2 separate regions of the Homo sapiens genome follow, and region 2 is linked to region 1. The links are contacts of gene promoters, found by promoter capture Hi-C in human tissues and cell types (Jung and others, 2019). All regions are on one chromosome and are shown on one strand. The core of a region is centred on a gene start or on the middle of the fragment in contact, and the rest is flanking DNA. Distances in the headings are between cores, read along the strand shown. Region 1 holds the start of ACOXL (acyl-CoA oxidase like). Region 2 overlaps ACOXL (acyl-CoA oxidase like).

What was found. The method cuts DNA at HindIII sites, captures the fragments that hold promoters and counts their contacts. A contact is called where the count stands out against the background at its distance.
Region 2: a fragment that was not itself captured here is called in contact with the fragment with the promoter of ACOXL in region 1 in 1 of the 25 tissues and cell types used here (H1 embryonic stem cells).

What each region holds. Positions count from the first base shown.
Region 1 is chr2:110,728,444-110,734,659 of GRCh38, forward strand. ACOXL (acyl-CoA oxidase like) reads left to right here and starts at 4,130. Exons shown (of 18, transcript NM_001142807.4): 1 at 4,130-4,331. LOC124906064 (a long non-coding RNA gene) reads right to left here and starts at 3,982. Exons shown (of 3, transcript XR_007087181.1): 1 at 3,911-3,982; 2 at 3,393-3,461; 3 at 2,918-3,192. The HindIII fragment of the contact is 4,333 bases long and covers 2,617-6,216 here.
Region 2 is chr2:110,765,672-110,771,526 of GRCh38, forward strand. ACOXL (acyl-CoA oxidase like) reads left to right here. Exons shown (of 18, transcript NM_001142807.4): 2 at 2,697-2,793. The coding sequence starts at 2,719. Among named protein-coding and RNA genes, the nearest start is that of ACOXL, 36 kb to the left of the region's middle. The HindIII fragment of the contact is 7,624 bases long and covers 1-5,855 here.

The DNA of each region.
Region 1 (6,216 bases), core at 2,880-5,379:
TTTCACCAATTTTCCCAATAATGTAGTAATCCCCTGCGTAGCAAGATCAAGAACCATTGAGCCTAAGCCCATGGGCTGAGCCCTGGCTGCACAATAGTAGAGTCACCTGGGGTGGAGAGGAGCTTTTAAAAACTACAGATGCCTACCTCTAGAAATTGGATCGATTGGCCAAGTCGTGTGTATTTGTGTGTCTGTGTTCATGGTTACTCTGATACACACTTAGTGTGGAAACCATTGATCTAAGCCAGTATATGGTCACTTCCTTTTATTTCTTTCTCATTTGTCAGTTCCCGTTAGTTCTGGGTGGGTATACTGGGTTGAATAGTGTTCCCTAAACGTTCATATCAGAAAGTGACCTTCTTTGAAAATAGGGGTTTTGCAGATGTAATCAAGTTGAGATGAGTCATGTTGGATTAGGGAGGGCACTAAATTCTACAACCAATGTCCTTCAAGAGGAGGGAGATTTGAAGACATAGAGACCCACAGAAAGGAAGGCCATGTGATGATGGGGCAGAGTGTGAAATGATGCTGCTATAAGCCAAGCAATACCAAGGATTGCTGGGAGCCAGCAGAATCTAGAAAAAGGCAAGGAAGGATTCTTCCCTAGAGCCTTCAAAAGTAACAAGGCGCTGCTGAACATTTCAGATTTCTAGCCTCCAAATCTGTGAGATAATTAAATTTCTGCCGTTTACCTAACCAAGTTTCTGGTAATTTGTTACTGTAGGAAAATAATATAGTGGTCAAGGGACCTAGTTAAGCCAAGATGGCCCAAGGGCAATTTTACTGGGTCTTTTGTCAGCTATTCTTTCCTAGTAACAAAAGATTCACAGGAGTGTGGTAGTCTTTAGCGTTGGCTGGTGGGGGCGCCTGGGAGGATTACACTTCTCTGGCTCTTAGAGAGAGGTGTGGCTTGTAAACAGATTCTTGAGGTATCTTCCAGGACAGGCTAGATTACGCTTGACACTTCTGGGTGTACATTTACAAGTCCGTGGGTGATCCAAACCGTGCTCTCATCCTCTGACGCAGAGACCAGTGATGCTTCAGATGGGGGTTGCTCAGATGGACAAGGCCCGGGAGTAAGATGGCTTACTGGGAATCCACAAAACCTATTTGTTACAGGTTTCAAGTGAGACTCTTGATTCTATTCTTGCCACAAGGGGCAAGGGAGTAGAGTCTGAGTTTCCTGAATTTTAATGGGCTTTTGTTACTAAATATTTCTCAGTTTCATCTTTTACTAATAGAAGTCGTGAAGCAGTTGCCTCTCCCAACCCTAAAAGTCCCTGAACTTGTGGACTCTATTCCCTTCCATCCCTGCTTGCAAACTGGTTAATTCTTTTGTAAGCCCATCTCTTTCTTATAATGTCTTGCCAAACACAAGCAAAAGCAGCCAACATGCAATACTAACCTTGTGTTTTCAGCAACTTCTCTTGGAGTGATAAGTTCCAAGTTAGGTCTGTCTCCTGTCAGTGGCAACTTTGTCAAATATTTGCCTCTTCATAAAAGGGACCATTTTCAATTTTGGTCAACAACAATGCTTTGGTCGACAGCATCCTCCTTGCCCCTCCCAGCCTCTAAGCCAATGTACCTATTTTAGTTTTTTATTTAATCAGCAACATTCTTTTAGTATCTTCTATGATTGGCTACGTAACAAATGACCCTCAAAAAAAATCTTAGTGGTTGGCCGGGTGCGGTGGCTCATGCCTGTAAACCCAGCACTTCGGGAGGTCGAGGTGGGTGGATCACAATCACCTGAGGTCAGGAGTTTGAGACCAGCCTGGCCAACATGGTGAAACCGTGTCTCCACTAAAAATACAAAAAATTGCCAGGCTTGGTGGCGGGCACCTGTAATCCCAGCTACTCAGGAGGCTGAGACAGGAGAATCGCTTGAACCCAGGAGGCAGAGGTTGCAGTGAGCCAAGATCATGCCATTGCACTCCAGCCTGGGCAACAAGAGCAAAACTCCACGTCAAGAAACAACAACAACAACAACAAAAATCTTAGTGGCTTCTAAGAACAGAGGCCTTTCTTTTTTCTCACTCAAGCAAACACTCACTTGGAAGTTAACTTAGTAACCTATCTTTTCAGTTTATAGGTCTCCGGATCAAGAGGAGCCACATCCTGACTTGATGCAAGGACCACTCTGTATCCCCCAGGGGCCTCAGACTTGATGTTGTGGAGGTGTGGGGCTTTGGCTGCTTCCCTGGAAGGATGGAGAGTATATTTTGCCTGTGGAAGGGAGAGTGTGACCAGAAGGGCAGATTGAATAGTCACTAGCTCTGCTTACAGATGATTTTGGGTGTTGACCTCCTGGGCATGTCCAGGGTGGTACCTCCCTTCCCCCATCGAGACAGGAGTGAGCTGCTTTGTCCAGTGGATTGTGAGTAGAAGTTATGTGTGTCTCTTCCAGCTGGAAGCTTTAAAAGCCAGTGTGGCCACACAATCATGGCTGTTCTGTCAGCCAGGACCTGGACCGAGGGGACATGGAACAGAACCCCCAGGTAGCATGAGTGAGAAATAAACTCTTGTCTTTTTAGGCCCTAAGATTTGAGGAAGTGTATGTGAAGTCGTTTCGGGGTTGTTTGTTACCACTACACTATTTTGGCTGATATAGAAGGAAATACTCCTCTTCTGCTTTGCACAGGGTGGTGCTTGGAGCTGCAGCATCCATCTTACAACTGGTAGAAGACAAGTTAAAAAAAAAAAGGTAACGATTACATATAGAGAAAGGATGGCGGATGGTGGAGCAGAAAGATGCAAAGGACCTGGGTCCCCAGGGTAGAGCCATCAAATTCACCCCTGGGGCTTTCCTACCACCAAGCTTCCTGTGATGTGAGAAAACAAAGCCCCTTTTATCATGGATGACTGGGTATTATTACTCGCAGCTGCACAGGTGTGGTAGACAGAGGAATGACTCGCCAAAGGTGCTCATGTTTTAATCCCTAGTACCGGAGAGTGTGTTTCTGATATGGCAAAATGGACATTGCTGGTGTGATTAAAGTATGGATCTTGTGGTGGGAAGATTATTCCCATTGACCATGGATTATTCCCATGGGTCCCATGTAAACAAGTCCAAGGGAGGCAAGAAGGTCAAAGTCAGTAGAAGATGGAACGATGAAAGCAGAGCTTGAAGTGATGCATTTTGAAGACAGACGAAGGGGCCAGGAGCTAAGAAATGCAGGCAGCCTCTAGGAGCTAGTAAAGACAAGGAAATGCATTTTTCCCTGGAGCTGTGAGAAGGAACCCAGCTCTGCCAACACCTTGATTTTAACCCTGTAAGTCCTATTTTGGACTTCTGACTTCCAGAAATGTAAGAGAATAAATTGGTGCTATCTTAAGCCACTCACTTTGTGGGAATTTGTTACTGGAAACGAATACAGATGGCATCCACTAACCTCACGACAGCAGACCACACCATCATCTCCCCAGCAAAGTAGCCTCTGGAAGGGAACGGCTAACATTTCCTTGAGTATTTAAAAGGAGAATCAACAAGGTATATGAGAATTAGGGAGCAGAAAGGAAGGAACATTTTCCACTTAGGTTATAACTCATTTTCCTCCAGCCACAACAAAAAAAGGAGTGTCCTGGGAAATGAGTATCGTGTTCCGGTCGATCACCTCGTCATGAATGCAGCTTCCAGCTACCCTGGACTGCAGTGCTGTAGACCTGGGACGCCTTTAGATTACCGTGATATTAGAGTTCACAGTAATGCCCAGTGCGGGGAAGAGGTGAGATACAGCTGAGGAGGGGCCAGAGCTGGAGCCAGGCTATCTTGGGTCGTGGGGGTCAGGCAAAGTGGCTGGCCGGGAGATCTGCTGAGTGGGTCAGCCGGTCAGTCCTGAGCAGCCGGGCCTCTGGTGCCCAGGTCCACGTGACTGGCACCCTTTCTAGGGGTCTAGTACTTGTTTCTTACGGCTCACAAATCTTGAGGGACAGTTGATAACTGGAGGGTAGAGTTTTCGCTTCCTCGGAAGGGCAAGGGGAGGCCACCGTAGAAGCGCCCGCTCGCGCCGGACCTCCCGCCCGGGAAGCCAGGGCAGGGCGGGGCCGGGGAGGGAGGGGAGAGGAAGGTGAGGAGGGAGGAGACGGGCCGGGAGGGGTGGAGAGGGAGAGGGCGTGCGCCTGGGGCCTCACCTGCTGGGAGCTGGAGGAGGCGCGGAGCGAAGCCGGCCCTGCCAGCCACGCGGAGAAGCAGAGGCAGGTGAGCGCGATGCAGCCGGCGCCGGGTCTGGGGCTCGGGGACTCCTCCCTGCACCGCTACCTGGACGGCGACTTCTGGAGCCTCAAGAACGAGCTGCGCGGACTCCTCGGCGGCGCCCGCTCTTCCGGCAAAGGTACCGCGCTGCGGCCGTCGCCCCTGCCCGCGCCCCCGAAGCCGCCGAGCGTGTCCCCTCGGTCCCCGGAGCGTCGCTGCGGACAACGCCCTGGCGAGGGCGAGGTGGGGTGTGCGCCGCGCCTGAGAGGCGGGTCCCTGCCTCGCCGCAGGTGACGGGCTCCCCTCCCCAGGTGTGTGGGCGCAGCCGGCCGCCGCCGACCTCTTCGGCCCCCTGAGAGGTGCCCTCTCCTCCCGAGCTCCCTCCCCCACGAAGAGTCGGGTGCAGGGCTGGGCCCCGCGGTGACAGGCGCGGTGTCTACGAAGACCGTGTGGCTGGAAGATCGGCCTTGCTGGTTTGTTGAACCTGTTTCTTGAGTCCCCGCCCCGCGATGTCCCACCCTTGGTGGGGAGAAGGGGACAGAAAACCGCGATGGGATGGGCGCACAGGGATGGAGTGGCCCTGTCCAGGGCGTGTCTGGGCGTCGGGGTGGGACAGGCTTACAGGACCCCCTCGGAGTGCAGGTGTGCGGAATGGGCAGCTTCAGCGGGGCGGTTTGGTTATAAGAAGAACTCAGGTCCTCGATGTCATCCGATGCCAGGACAGCCCTGAGAAGCAGGCAGAGGGTTGAGTGCTTGAGCTGCACTGGAGATAGAGAGATGGTTCAGTCACCGGACAGTCAGGACCAGAACTCGGCATTCGTGTCTCCTGTGGGCTCTCTTTCTCATACCCATTTCAAGCAGTCTGAAAAGCCCAGTTGGAGGCATGCTTTGGAGTTCTAGCTTAAGAAAGGCCCTATTAAAAATGTCAGTATGTGCCCGTGGAGGATTAATTGGTTAGCCATGCCCACTTAGCCCTCGTTTAATTTATTTTGCGGAAATGAGAGGGAAGGAGATGGCTTGAGTGAACGTCAGGCTGTCCTTGGAGAATCTGGGGTTCCTGCACTGAGGTTACCTAGTGGGGAGTTGGGGGCGTTTGAAAGTTGAAAAGTGAGAAGTGTGGGATGGTGGGTATATCCATCAGTGTCTCGCCGACTTCTCTTTCCCTCTCTCTCATACATAGTTCTTTAAGTTATGGTTCTCAAAGTGTGGTACAGGGAGCCCTGGGGGGACCCAAGAGCATTTCAGGCGGTTCATGAGTACAAACTGTTTTTATAGTAATACAAAAAAAGTTATTAGCTTTTTCACTCTCATTCTCTCACTAATGTACAGTGGCAGTTTCCAGAGACCACATGATGTGTAGTATTCCAGCAGAAAAAATATAGAAGCAGACATGAGAATACAGCTGCTTTCTATTAAGACAGACAGTAAAGGGATTTGTAAAAATATAGAACGATGCTACTCTTCTTGCTAACTTTTTTTGTTTTGGAAAATAGTTATTTTCATAAAATACACTAATAGATTTATTAGTTATTTTCAAATGAATTAATAAACATTTGAAAACTTTTCTGTTTTAATTTCTAATACGGGAAATATCAGTGGATATAACCCACCCAAATAAAAGCTCTTTGGGGACCTCATAATTTTTTTTTTTTGAGACGGAGTCTGACTCTGTTGTCCAGGCTGGAGTGCTGTGGTGTGATCTCAGCTCACTGCAACCTCCACCTCCTGGGTTCAAGCGATTCTCCTGTCTCAGCCTCCGGAGTAGCTGAGATTACAGGCACCCACCACCACGCCTGGCTAATTTTTTGTATTTTTAGTAGAGATGGGGTTTCACCGTGTTGGCCAGGCTGGTCTTGAACTTCTGACCTCAAGCGATCCGCCTGCCTCGGTCTCCCAAAGTGCTGGGACCTCATAATTCTTAACAGTGCAAAGAGTTCCTAAAATCAATGTTTGTGAACGGCTGCTTTAAGTCATACTGAGTTCAGTCGCATCTGATTAGACACACATCCCCTCCTATATTCCTC
Region 2 (5,855 bases), core at 1,026-3,525, 35 kb after region 1:
GCCTTCTTGCTATGTTCTAACATACTGGAAGGAGCAAGGCAGGTCTCTGGGACCTCTTTTGTAAGGGCATAAATCTCATTCATGAGGGTGAACTGCTCATGACTTAATCATCTCCCAGAGCCCCTACTTTCTAATATAATCACCTTGGTGATTAGGATCCAACATATACATTTTGGAGGACATACAAACATTTAGACCATAGCAATCTGTCATCAAGTTCACTGATTCTATTATTTCATCTATGCTGTATTCTTGAGTTCATCTAGTGAGATTTAAAAAATTTGGTTATCATATTTTTCAGTTCTATGAGTTCCATTTTATTCTTTTCTATAACTTGCACTTCTTTGATACAATTTTCTGTTTTTTTCCCCATTTATTTCAAGAGAAATTATGATTACTTATTGAAGCATGGTTATGATGGTTGCTTTAAAATCTTCATCAGATAATTCCAATGTCTGATTAATCTTGGTGTGGGTATCTGTTGATTTCTTTATCATTCATGTTGTGATGTTCCTTGTTGCTGTGATGATTCTTAGTAAATTCTTTGTATGTGTTCTGACAGTTCTTGGTATCATGAGCAATTTTTTATTGTGTCCTAGACATTTTGGATATTTTATTATGTTGCTCAAGATTGATTGAATATTTTTTAGCATGGGGTCCCTTGTTGAGGTATATTGGGATGTCCAGGTGGCCATGTATATTCAGCTTCCTGTTGAGCCAACTTTGTTGAAAATGTATGGAGTGGAAGTTCAGCTCCCCTCTTGAATCTCATGACCTCAGTTGCCTTCAGATGGGGATGTGAGATCATCCCCTCCCCACTGGGCTGAGCTGCCATCAGGAAGGGGGAAGTTGAAAGCTGACCCACATCACTTTGTTGTCACCGGTATGGGATGGAAGGTCAGTTCTCTTCTGGGTGCTAATGACGCCAGGGAAGGAGAGGGGTGAATTAAGTGCCAACTGACCCTCTCTCCTACCACCTCCTTTTTCCTTGTTAATACCGAGTAGGGGTGAAGTCTCAGCTTCCCATTGGGTCCTGCTGATGGGGTGTTGGTGTGAAGCAGGGTGTGACTAGATTTACCTCGCATCTTCTTGCTAGGCCTTGTTGTTGCTGGGTATAGATGGCCACTACTGGACTCCACTAATGCTACCCTGGCACCACCTGCTTTTGCTGGGCAGGAGATAGAAGATCAGCTCCCTACTTGGCCCACCAAGGTGTGCACCAGGTCGGGAACTCAGACACTCCATCTGCTCTGCAAGACAAGAGGTGGAAGGTTAACTCTCCCCTCAGCCTTGCAGAAAGGAATTGGAGTGCCCCCTCCTGCTTTTGCAGGGTTATGGGGTAGAGAGGAAGAGCAATGCCCCACTGAGACTGCAGGAGAGGAAGATGGGTGTGTTTTGCTCTGATGTTTTTCTGTTGTTGGGTGGGTATCTCCAAGAAGGTTTTCTATTGTTAGGCCATCCTTTTCATATCCTCTGGCTCTGAAATCTAACCTGAGTGAGGTCCTACAGGCTCAGGCTGTGCGTTGCATGGAAACATTCTAGGTGGCCAAAGAGGAACCTCTCCTCCTGTGTCAGTTTAGGTTCATTGAGAAGTGGGCACCAAGGTGGGGCTAGATGTGCAGGAGATTTAATGGGAGAAAACACCTGAGAAGCGTAAGTGGGAGGGAGCTGGATTGGTGGGGAGAACCCTCAGAACAAAGGCAGTCAGGTCTGGCTTCCTTGCAAAGAGAGGGGGAGGAAAGGGTTGAGCTGGGAAAGCCTCAGACACAGTACAGTGATGACAAAGTCTGCAGGCAAGTGGGCTCCCAGAGCAGGTCACCTCTTGGGCAGGCATGGCCTGACTCTAGAACCTTGTGAGGCTCAACCATCAGCTAGTAGCAGCCAAGAGATGAGCAGCCTCATGGTGAATGTAATTACCATCACTCTGTTATTCCAAAGGTGTGGCAGCTGGAAGCAGGTAATCTCGAAGGCAACCCTGAGTGGCAATCCTTATGGCCACCACAGTCCACCTCTTGCAACACGCATGTCACTCCCTTGCCCCTATCTCCCAAATGCTGCTTTTAAGTCATCTCAGACAATTTTCAAAGGACTGCAGAGCAGGAGGTGTTGCAGTCTTGTTTTAAGATGGTCTTGGCCGGGCGCGGTGGCTCACGCCTGTAATCCCAGCACTTTGGGAGGCCAAGGCGGGTGGATCACAAGGTCAGGAGTTTGAGGCCAGCCTGGCCAATATGGCGAAACCCTGTCTCTACTAAACACACACACACACACACACACACACACACACACACACACACACACACACACACACAAATTAGCTGGGCATGGTGGTGGGCACCTGTAGTCCCAGCTACTTGGGAGGCTGAGGCAGGAGAATCGCTTGAACCCGGGAGGCGGAGGTTGCAGTGAGCCGAGATTGCACTGCTGCACGCCAGCCTAGGCAACAGAGTGAGACACCATCTCAAATAATAATATTAATAAGAAGAATAAGATGGTCTTGTCAGGAAATCCTTCCATCTCTCCCTCCCTGTGTCTGGCTGTATTGAACACCCAGTCTGTGTGACACACACAGTGTGCACAGTATCAAACAAGCATTACAATGGACACAGCTTTTCTGTCTGAGCCCGGGGTCAAAGCATCCACAGCCTCCCCTCAGTCACCAATTATTGGCTGTCTTATTTTGTATCTGTTCTTCACAGGTATGATTTAAGCTTGGATGAAATGAGAGCTTTGACAGTTCAGAGAGTGAAGTTTGCCATGGACCTGCCTCTGTTAAAACGTGCAGGTCAGGATCTGGTAAGTGTCATTATTATTCTGGTATGGTTGTGTGTGTGTGTGTGTGTGTGAGAGAGAGAGAGAGAGAGAGAGAGTTTTTTTCTCTCCAGCTTTTATTTTATGTTTAGAGGGTATATGTGCAGGTTTGTTACATGGGTAAATTGCGTGTTATGGAGGTTTGATGTACAGAGTATTTCCTCACCCCAGTAGTGGGCACTGAACTCACGATAGGTAGTTTTTTGACCCTCACCCTTCTCCCACCCTCCTCTCTCAAGTAGGCCGCCGCGCCTATTGATTTCTTCTTTGTGTCTGCGTGTACTCAGTGTTTAGCTCTCACTTATAAGTAAGAACGTGCGGTATTTGGTTTTCTGTTCCTATGTTAATTTGCTTAGAGATTTTGTTTTGTTTGCTTTTGTGACTTGCTAAGCCTGTTGATCTCATGCTGAGGGCAGCTGACAGACAGGTCTCGGTGGAGGAGAGTGTCTTCCTCAGGCCCCTTTTCTGCCCCACTCCCACTAACCTAACAAACCCTTTCCTCGGCCCACACATTCACTTCTCCAATCTCACAGGCGAGGGAATAGGAGTATCAGCAGAAGTAATAAAATATTTGTACACAAAACCCATATAATTTTAGGGATAAAGTTAAATAGCTGGGAAATAGAAATAACTCATTTTAAGGGCTTTTAAAGTACTTTAGACTTATCCAAAGTTTATGTCTTATTTGTCTAAAAACTGTCATTCTAAATTTAGTGGTATTATTTTAGTCAATTTAGCCTCATGAAAAAAGAAAGAAAGAAAGAAAGAAAGAAAGAAAGAAAGAAAAAAATACATGATTAGTGAGTTCCTTTGTGTCAGTATTAGGAGTGATGTATTTTAGCCAAGTTCATTCAGCTTCATGGTATATAGGAAAAAATATACCTCAGCAGGGTGTGGTGGCTCACATCTGTAATCCCAGTACTTTGGGAGGCCAAGGTGGGCTGATACTGGGTAGAGCCCAGGAGTTCAAGACTGGCCTGGGCAACATGGTGAAACCCTGTCTCCACAAAAAAAAAAATACAAAACTGGCCAGGCACAGTGGCTCATGCCTGTAATCCTAGCACTTTGGGAGGGAAGCAGGTGGATCACTTGAGGCCAGGAGTTTGAGACCAGCCTGGCCTCAACATGGCGAAACATGGCCTGGGCAACATGGTGAAACACTGTTTCTACTAAAACAAAACAAAACAAAACAAAACAAAACAAAAATTAGCCAGGTGTGGTGGTGCACGCCTGTAGTCCCAGCTACTTGGGAGGCTGAGGCACGAGAATCCCTTGAACCAGGAGGCGGAGGTTGCGGTGAGCTGAGATTGCGCCACTGCACTCCAGCCTGGGCAACAAAGCGAGACTCTGTCTCAAAAAATAAAATAAAATAAAATAAAAAACCCCAAAAACCCCAAAACACTAAACAAATACTAGCCAGGCATGGTGGCCCACACCTGTAGTACCAGCTACTTGGGACGCTGAGGTGGGAGGATCGTTTGAGGCTCCAGAGGTCGAGGCTGCAGTGAGCTATGATCGCACCACCGCACTCCAGCCTGGGCAACCGGAGTGAGACCCTGTCTCAAAATGAACAAACAAACAAACAAAAAACCCAACACCACCCGCCCTCTGAGACCCCCTAAGGGAGGAGCCTGAACTAGGGTAGCTGCAGCTCAGCGGCATGCTGAGGAGCCGACCCTATCCTGCAGCAGCCCAGCCCTTTCCCCACCCAGCATGGTCTGGGAGGGAGAGTCTGAGGACTGAGGGATGGAGTCCTCCCAGTTCAGGAGACCACAGGGGCGCCTTTCTTTGTGGAGCGTAGAATGGAGCTAGTGGGGGCCTGGGATCCATGCTTGAAAGTAGATCCCTCTCCCTTCCCCACAATCCCACCAACCTTTGGTAGGTTGTCTAAGGAGACAAGGACCAATCCTGGAGTCTTCTCAGGAAGGAATTACAGGCAGAGCCTTGGCACCACCTGCGCTGCGATACTGCAGGCACCTCCACGCTGACAAGGGCGCTGCAGTGTCAGCTGAGCTGGAGAACGTGCAGATGGATGTTCACTTGGCACAGGAAAACTCCCATGTGACAAAGTGGAGCGTGCTTGCGAAGCGTAAAAAATCATTTCATACCAAGTAGTTTGGCAGAGATTTTCAAGCTAGGAAATTGCCTCTTGATGGAGCATCCATTTAGAGCTGTGAATACAACCAAAAAAGAAAAAAAACACAAAAACAACCAACCTCTTTGCTGCCAACCACTCTCTCTGTCAGAGTCGCCTCCAAGTGCGTTCGGCATGGGGCTGGTTGGAAGGTGAAATCTTGGCCTGTGGCCAGCTTCTTGCTCCCTTAATCAGCCCAACATGTCTGTGGCTTAACTTAGTGTCAATACTCAAGACCCGGATGTGAGAGCTGATCCCTTAATGAGGCTTGCTAATTGCAGCCCGACCCGCTGAGTCTGAAGGATTAGCCTCTGTAATCTCGCTCCTGATGAAGCGTGTTGAGCTCTGGATCCAATTATCTTCCTGTTTTCCTGGCTCACTTAGTGGCCTTAGGCAGCCTGGACAACTCTCTGTCCTGGGTGATTAGATATAATTCCTCCAGGAGGCACAGGATTGGCCCTAGACCATCCCTCCAGTCATTTCTGTGAATTATCTCGGCCTGTTTGGCACCTCTCTCTGTATGAATTCACAAAAGCCAATAAACCTGAAGGAAATGAAACTGGCCATCAGTGCGGCAGGCTCATCTCGCTGGGCGGATGTCATGAGACTCGGCAGCACATCTGTGTTTGAAGGCTCTCAAATTCCGCCCTGTAAACAGCTGGAGGAGCTGTCCACATCCAGTAATTCTAGAAGTGTTACATGATTCATCCTGCCTCTTAATAAAATGATTGAGTCATGGCTGTCCTGCCTGCTCAGGGAGCATGCCAGGCCCGTCTGTGTTTCCCTGGACCCCCCTTTCATGTTGCTCTCCACTTTTGTGGATGATCCGATGAGCTCTGAGGCAGAACGCGGTGTATAATGTGTAATGATGATGTTCTAGGGGACAAATAAGAAGGGAGTCTCATTCACTCCA